Regions from separate parts of the Homo sapiens genome. Here region 1 is linked to region 2. Evidence: promoter capture Hi-C in 16 types of primary human blood cells and fetal thymus (Javierre and others, 2016). All regions are on one chromosome and are shown on one strand. The core of a region is centred on a gene start or on the middle of the fragment in contact, and the rest is flanking DNA. Distances in the headings are between cores, read along the strand shown. Region 1 holds the start of PPM1F-AS1 (PPM1F antisense RNA 1). Region 2 has its middle 72 kb from the start of IGLL5.

Region 1 (4,467 bases), core at 212-2,711, 1.0 Mb after region 2:
CCCCTCCTCATCCCTAGGAAGGCCCCGCCACCACTTGCTGCTGCTCTGGCCCACGAAGCAGTTTCACAGCTGCTACAGACAGACCTTTCCGAATTCAGGAAGTTGCCCAGGGAGGAAGAAGAAGAGGAGGAGGACGATGACGAGGAGGAAAAGGCCCCTGTGACCTGTGAGTTCTGTTTCTTCTGAGGTGGCCCCAGGGCTGCTTAGCAGGCAACAAAGGGTGACGACATTGTGGGAAGCCCATTGATTGGGGTCCCTAAGGGTGCTGGGGCCCTCGCTCACAACGGCAGCAGAATCAAGGAGCAGAGAAGGCTTGCGGCCCCAGTGAGGTGGAGGGTGGCGGTCACAGCCCTCCACAGGTCATATAGTTCCCAGTCAGCCCACGAGGCAGGGGTGGGTGGTGCAGACACCCTCCTGTGTCCTGTCTGACTGAAGTTCCAGAACAGCCCAGGAAATTAAAGATGCTTATCCCGTTTCACAGAGGATCTCACAGGTGATCGATCTCTGGTCATGCAGCCAGGTTCAAGTGCCCTCAGTGTTGTAACTCAGTTAACATGCGCCCGGGCAGGCGAAGTCAGGGTTGGCCAGGTGGCATGCCAGCAGGTCTCGGGGCAGCAGCGTGGTCCCCTCAACGCTCGGGCCCCCTGCCTCAGCTGCCCCCAAGTCAGGATTCTGTTGGGTGGAGACGCTCTACGGTGTCCATGAGCCCCATGGTTAGATGCTGGTGGAAGCTTGTCTGTCAGCCTGCTCCTGGGACAGCCATAAGCATGGTGTGGCCAGGGGAACCCAGAAATGGAGAGGGCTGCAGATCCATTTCACAGAGGATATAATCATTAAAAAGCAGGGCTTTTATTTCATGTGACTTTCTTTCATTCTCCTAGTAATTTCATTTTATTATATTTCGCCAAAGTGTTGGTTGATGTTAGACCAGAAATACAGGGCGTAAGAATCGCAGGCTGCAGCAGGGGTGCCACAAGGGGGTAGCAACGTCCCACCCAGCTGAATAGTTGTCCCTGGACAGGCCAGCAGGCAGCAGAGTTGCAGTGGATTTTCCCTTCCTTGCCATTTCCTGTCGGCCATTTCCTTTCCCTTCCTTTGCCATTTCCTTTCCTTTCCCTGTTGTTCTAAATTCGGCATTACTAGTGCATGCGTGCATCCGGGGAAAAGGAACAAGGTGGGAGAAGAGAGAGAAAGCGAATACCCGAGGCCGCCAGCATCAGTGGGTGCCCGCGCTCTCCTCCTCGCTCTCGTCCTCTGCCCTCCGCCCTGGCTCCCTGCCCGCATTCCCTGGGAGCGCAGCCTTGCCTTAGCCTGGGAGACAGCTGTCCACAGTGACAGGCGGCCATTGTTCTCGGCCGAGCCAGCAGGCTTCCGGCCGGTGGCAGCTGCTGCTCCTCCGCTCTGCGGCCCCACCAAGGGGGCGCCGCCACCGCCCAGGCCCTCCCCGCCTGATGGGTCTCTGTCCGTCCACGCGGGAGACAGCGCCACCTGCCGGTGAGAAGGAGCGTTGCTGCGCCGGCACCAGCCCAGTCCTACGCTCGGGGCTCCTGCAGGCCTGGGAAGGAGGGAGGGCGCAGCTAGAAGGAAGTCTCGCCTGCCCTTGCTTCCCCGTCTGTCAGAGTGCCTCGCATGCAGGCCTGCCTAGCGGCCTTGATCATGCTCTCCCTGTCACGGAAGTAGAATGTAGTCAAGTTTTTGGACTCCAAGCCATTCTTACAAAATTGCGTCAGAGTGGGGATTGTATTATAAGAATTGCCACTGAAGAGCAGCGAGTGGCTGAAACCTCTGTGTGGCTGCCAGTCAGCCCCTCCCCGGTGACTGGATCAGCGAAGAATCCAGAAGCGAGGTTGCGGGGCTGCAGCCCTTGGCATGGGGAGTCCGTGGGCTGGGCAGCACTGCCTCAGCCGCTGGCCTTTCCTGAGCAGAGTCTAGGCTAAGCGGCTGTTGGAAATAGCAGTAGCACCCGGGGCGAGACCGTGAGCCACAGCGGCGGCCGGAGTCTCCCCCAGCCCGAGCTCAGGCCTGGTAAGCACCAGGAGCCCACAGTTTCCAGAGGGAGTGAGGAGGAGTCCATGGCATTTAGGGGCAGTTTTCTGGGCACAGTGGCCCTCAGACGAGAGGAAGAGGAGGCAGCGCTACAAGGACTGGCAGGACGAGGGGGGTTTCCTGCTGGTTTGCAGGGGATCCACTGGCCAAACTTGTGTGGAGCTGCCTTCCCTGAGCTGGGCCTGCCTGAATGAGTTCTCAGGCCCCTCCTTCACCCATAGCCTTGCCAGTCCCCAGTTCTTGCCAAATGCTTGAATAGGCCCCTGTGTTGGCCATGGCGGCAGCAGCTGGCTCTGGATGCCCCCACCCCTGCCTTGATGCATGGATTCCCAAGAACCTGTCTTTCTGTGACCTCCTGCGTGCATAAGCCCTCGCGTTCATGGTTCTTCCTCGGTGGCCCCCTCTGGCCTCAGCCCTTCTCCTTTTCTTCCACAGCCTCCGCCTTTAGGCAGGAGCTCTTTCCTCCTCTCAGTTCCCCATGTCCTTTGGGTGTGGCCTGTGACACTCAACTCCTGCCCTCGGCTGACTGGCCCTGATTCACCATGCTTGCCACATGCACCTGGGCTGGCAGGAGTTCCAGGAGAGTTTGTGCATTGAAGTGACATGAGTCCCTGAAGCCAGAGCCCCCATGGTTTCCTTTGGGCCTGTTACTGGTTGATCTTTTCTTGAGAAGCCAAGCTTAGGTAGGATTTGGGTATTTTTTCTTTTCAAATGAGTATTGTGGCTTATATTATTTGTTGCTACATAACAAATTGCCCCAAATGTAGTGGCTTAAAACAACAGACATTTATTCTCCCAGTTTCTGTGGGTCTGGAATCTGGGAGCAGCTTAGCTGGTTCTGGTCCAGGGTCTCTTACTGGGTTGTGGTGACATGGTTGCTGGCTGGGCTGGAGGGCCTGCTTCCACGGTGGTTTCAACACACGGCCACTGACAGGAGGCCCTGGTCCCGTCCCATGTGGACTCTCCGTGGCGCTGCTTGAGCATCCTCACAGCTCAGATTGAGCGATGAGAGGGAGGGAGGAAGAGAGTGAGAATACACAAGGCGGGAGGCGCAGGGCCTCTTTGTTTCGTAACACCTGAAGCACACGCAGTCACTGCCACTCTTCATCAGAAGCAGCCAGCTCCCACACTCAGCAGTGGGAAGTGAGCTCCACCTCGCAAAAGGGGAAGTCAAAGAATTTGTGGACATGCTTTAAAGCCACTGTCACACGAGACTAACACTTGTAATGAAAAACTGGGGAAGTATTAAGAAAGTGTACTTCAGGAAAAAGCTGTCCGTGGAACTGCCACGTGCAGGCCCACTCTGACACCTTGGTTGTGTGCTGTTCCCGCCTTTTTTTTTTTCTGGCCCTGGTGGTTTTTCATGGACTTGTAGTTAAACTGCATATGTAATTTTCCTTCTTTTTTCACTTAGTATCATGACAGAAGCATTTTACATGCTTATAAACTCTATTAAAATCCATTTTTTAGTTTTCTGTTTTAAGAGACCAGGTCTCCCTCTGTCACCCAGACTGGAATGCAGTGGTGTAATCGGAGATCGCCGTAACCTCGACGTCCTTGGCTCAAGGGATCCTCCTGCCCCAGCCTCCCGAATAGCTGGGAGTAGATATACCACCACACACAGCTAATTTTTTTTGGTTTGGTGTTGTTCATTTGCGACTGAGTTTCGCTCTGTTGTCCAGGCTGGAGTGTAGTGGCTCAATCTTGGCTCACTGCAACCTCTGCCTCCCGGATTCAAGCAATTTTCCTGCCTCAGCCTCCCAAGTAGCTGGGACTACATGTGCATGCCAGCACGCCCAGCTAATTTTTGTATTTTTAGTAGAGACGGGGTTTCACTTTGTTGGTCAGGGTGGTCTCGAACTCCGGACCTCAAGTGATCTGCCTGCCTTTACCTCTCAAAGCGCGGGACTACAGGCATGAGCCATGGCGCCCAGCCTGTTTGTTTTTAAGAGACAAGGTCTCTTTATGTTATCCAGGCTGGTCTTGAACTCCTGACCTCAAGCAGTCCTCCCACCTCAGCCTCTCAAAGTGCTGGGATTACAGGCATGAGCCACTATGCCTGGGCTAGTTTTTTTTAATTAAACTTTTTGTTTTGAGATAATCATAGCTGCACATGCAGTTGTAATAAATAATACAAAGAGATTCCATGTATACTTTACCCAGTTTCCTCCAATGGTAACATTTTGCAAAACTATAATAAAATATCACCACCAGGATCCTAACATGGTCAAAATACAGAGCAGTTCCATCACCAGGATCCCTCCTGTCACCCTTTTAAGGCCACCCTTATACCCCCACCCCTACAGACCCCATCCCTAACCACTGGCAACTACTAATCTTCTCGGCTTCTACCATTTTATTATTTCAAGAACACATATAAATGGAAGCATATGATGTGTAACTTTAGGGGACTGGTTTAAT
Region 2 (4,097 bases), core at 808-3,307:
TCTAGTTCCTTATACATATGGAATAGTATTATAATAACTGCTTTAATGACCTTATCTATTTATTACCTATGTCAATTTTGGATCAGCTTTGACTGGCTGATATTTTCCTAACTATGGATCATATTCTTCCACTTCTTTGCCTGCATGTTAATTTGTAGTTGAATGCTAGACATTGTGCATTTTATCTTTGCAGGTGCTAGATATTTTTGTATTCTTAAGTTGTGTTCTGGTACACAGTTAAATTATTTTGAAACAGTTTAATCTATCCCCAGCTTTCTTTTAACATTTTTACATGAGACCACAACAGCATTAAGTCTATGGTTAATTTTGTCCACAGATCAGGAAGACTCCTCTGAGTACTCTACCTGATGCTTAATGAATTATGAGATTTTCTGTACTTGTTGATGAGGTCAGGCATTATTTTCAGCCCTGAATTTTCTCTGGGGATTGTTCTGTTCAATGCTTTTGGGTAGTCTTTTTCTTGGCCTCAGGTACATTCCTCATATGCATACACTGATCACTACTCAGTATAATACTTACACTCTCGTATTTGCAGAGTTCTCTTTCTGTTAAGCTCCCTCCTCTTTGGTACTCTGCCCTATGAACTCCAGCGGCCTGGGATCCCAAGCAGCTCTGTTTCTTCAACTCGGGGAGGCCAGTGGGCTGTGGTTACGTTCTCTCCTCCTTGAGCCTCAGACTGGAAACTCTCCATGCAGTAATCTGGGGCAATCGTGGGGCTCATCTTATTCATTTCTCATCTCTTATAAACCACTATCTTTCATTGCCTGATGTCCAGTGACTTAAATATTTTGTGTTGTTTTTAAAATTATTCCAGGCCTAAAAATAAATCCAGCTCCTGTTACTCCATGTTGACCAGAATGTATAATTGTTATTGCTGTTTTTTTTCTTTAAAAAACACCTTTATTGAGATGACTTATCCAATTAAACTGAGGCTCATTTGCAGGGATAGTTTTTGAGGTCAGTGTTTGAGGTTTGCTTTGACCCCAAGAGGTCTGTTTTTAGCCATGTCTTTTCCTGGTTCTCTCTGATAAACTAGCTGGCCTATGGTCTAGTTTATGTCACTAATGAACTTACCAGTTTCCTCTCAATTGCTTTTTGCCCAAGCTTCATTGTTTTGAAAGTCCCCTTAATGTTGAACTTTGTACTCATTTGCAAATAAAGTCAGTTCATTCGGGAAGGGCTTTAGAGCTCTCTATGTCCTGCCTTTCCTCTTGGGGAAATGTTTCAGGAGCTTTTGGCTATGGCTCTGGGGCTGGGTGGGGACAGTGGTAGGTAGCTACTTTCTGAGTGACACCCCTGCTTTAGGAGGTGGGTGCTTATTGGAGAGTCTATTGTATTCCCAGCTTGCTTCTCATAGCATGGAACCTCTACTTTACAAATGAGCTGGTTGATGGTGCCAGTATTCTCAGTGTGTTGCACCCAAGGCAGGGCTTTTGTCCCACAAGTAGGGGCTGAGCAAAAGAAGAGAGCCTCAACCGATTACTACAATCACCTGGAATTTAGTCTCTGCAACAGGTAGCTGGGGTGGGAAGAAAAATGCTGATGGATTTTCCTTCTTGGGAAAATACCATAGCCCTTGACTGGGAGCTGGGTGGAGACAGTGCTGTGTCCTTGGCTGTACCCACCTGGAGTGGAGTTTCTGTCACATTTTGCTGGCAGTGGGAGGAATGGAGCAGGTCGTGGTTGAAATGCCACAGACCCTCCCATTTCTTGCCAGGTTTTAATAGATGTTCTTGAATTAAATGTTTTTTTATTTGCTGTATGCCCTAAGGCCATTTCTAGAGACTTTAAATAAATACATATATCTTAAATATTTTATACACACACACAATTGCCCATTCTGGAAGTGGAAGTCCCCCGTCTCCACCCCCAGGAGGTTTTCAACACTCTAGATGTGGATGCCCAGCTGACCGCTCACTCTGCCTCCCACTGCAGGAAGACTCAAGGATAGATGCCCCAGTGAGTCAACCTCCTAGCTTCTTTTCAAATTCAAACAATCTTTTCTCTAGCCACACCTTGGTTCATAGGCTAAAACCCTTGTTACTTGGATTTGACCTTTTTGAGAATTTTTGGAGCGTGCACAGTCTTGTTGAACCCTAATGCAACCAAGTAGTTGTGTAGTTCTCTTCTAGGGTCAGATTCACTCTCATCAGATAATGTGTGGACCCGGGAAACAAATTATCTGTACATGCTGGCCGTCTCCCTGCATTTCCGCCACCTGGTGGGCAATTTTCACATGGACTGCCTTGAATCTGGATTATATTTGGTGGTCTCTGGCACCCTCCGGTGATGAGATATTTTAGCCCTGTGTTTTGTGGTAGTTTGACCGTATTTCATTTGTGATGAAGTGATTTTTGACCTGTATAACTGCTTTACAAGGAAACACACTTGGAGCTTGTTCACTGAGGGGCTGGAATAGTCAATCTGCATCCATGTCCACAGGCTGTTGGCTGGCATTTCTTCGGTGATGAGTCTGGTTTAGCCTCATTGTGAGAACATGCAAGGTGTGTGCATCCCTGGGTCTCTAGTTTAGTGTTCCTTCCAGGTCTTGGGCACCTATCCCAGCAGATCTTGGTGGCAATCATGAAGGATATCCTGGGGACATCACAACATAGTCCTCTCCCAGTTTTGCTGGCCAGCAGTGAAAAGACCGAGAGGCTGCTTTCGGGTCTTGTTTTTACAACTAGACCTTCGAAAGACATAAAGCATCTGTGTCCCTGCTTTGTAAGGTTCCAATCACCCCAGATCTTTTTCTTCATCCCCATGAGCAGTGGGGGGTCACGTTAACAATTTGGATCCAGTTATTCTCAGCAGCTAATGTCCTTCCAGCAGAGAGGGCGGACGCTGGGACTGTCCCATCATCGATGTTCCTCCAGCTCAGCCATCTTCTGGCTGCTGGACCAGATTGTCTGACTTTATTACCCAAGGGCTGAAAGGCTTATTGTCCCTGTGGCCACTTGGAAGCTTATGATCTTTGACTCCTGAGCTGTATTCTGTCATCCATTTAGCATAATATAGCGATCAGTCCAAGGACTCCAGTTCCTTATTTTACTTGTGAAGGATCATTTAGAAAAAAAATTCAACCTCCTTAGCAGTAGTTTGTCCTGGAATGTTGGTTTTATTAATAATTACTGTGGGTTACACCTCCCCTGCCTTCTCACCTTCTTTGAGGTTTCCCACATGAAAACCCCTGACACTGACTGAGGGATGGTCAGATTTTTAAAAATGTGACATTGGGGTTTTGAGGACCAGCATTCACGTCCATCCTGTATGAGGCCATCCTTGAAGTCAGAAGTTTTCCACTCTGAACCATCATTAGAGGAGTCATCGCTATGGTGACATGATGGTTTTCTCTCTTTCCATGAACTTGGAGATGGGGAATTATTTGAAAAGATAGAGAGCTGAGTGTCCAACCTCACTCTGGTCATATGACGTCTCTAGGGGAGCAAAGGCTAAAGGAAATTGGTTTCCTCCTTGCTGTGCAATGCACTAGCTTTTGGACACATGGCTGTCCTGTCACTTTTTACTGGAGCTAGGCCCGAGGCATTTGCAGGAGTGTAATTTATTTGGCCCCAAGCTGTGACACGTTCTGGGTCCACCGGAAATTCTTGATTTCTTTTATACTCTGCTGGGCGGGCTTCTCTAGGGTACTTATTCTAGGAATAAATCTCACGAATCTTTGTGGGCTTTGAAGTCCACATTGCTCCTTGGAGAGGAGAGAGCATCTGCATCCATTCTTTGCTCACCCACCACCCCCGAAGTGGCCATTCCAAAGAAAGCTGCCTGTGTTCTCACTGGCTGATATCTATCCCCATTTTAACCTGATTTAGATGGGGCTGACCAGCATTTATGGTTTGGTCACAACGCTTGCCTTCTGCAGTTCCCTGTGGCAGCTGACTGTTTGCATTCTGCAAGATGAATGCCTGAAGGCTTCATTTGACTTCATTTGATTGAAGGTCTATCATAGTAGCAGTTCGGAGATGACCTTCATTTCCATGCCATCTTTTGATGCTGAGATATTGTGTCAACCAGGGTAGACTCAGGAGGCAAACCACACCAGTAATTTGAACAGGGAT

What was found. The method cuts DNA at HindIII sites, captures the fragments that hold promoters and counts their contacts. A CHiCAGO score of 5 or more calls a contact.
Region 1: the fragment with the promoter of PPM1F-AS1 here is called in contact with a fragment that was not itself captured in region 2 in 1 of 17 cell types (total B cells); the score reaches 5.8 in total B cells.

What each region holds. Positions count from the first base shown.
Region 1 is chr22:21,935,231-21,939,697 of GRCh38, reverse strand. PPM1F-AS1 (PPM1F antisense RNA 1) reads right to left here and starts at 1,461. Exons shown (of 2, transcript NR_147620.1): 1 at 85-1,461. It overlaps PPM1F (protein phosphatase, Mg2+/Mn2+ dependent 1F), which reads left to right. Exons shown (of 8, transcript NM_014634.4): 3 at 18-166. RefSeq lists enhancers at 1-229, 230-1,037, 1,038-1,844 and a silencer at 1,327-1,486. The HindIII fragment of the contact is 1,993 bases long and covers 734-2,726 here.
Region 2 is chr22:22,957,548-22,961,644 of GRCh38, reverse strand. No RefSeq gene overlaps it. Among named protein-coding and RNA genes, the nearest start is that of IGLL5, 72 kb to the right of the region's middle. The HindIII fragment of the contact is 1,860 bases long and covers 1,128-2,987 here.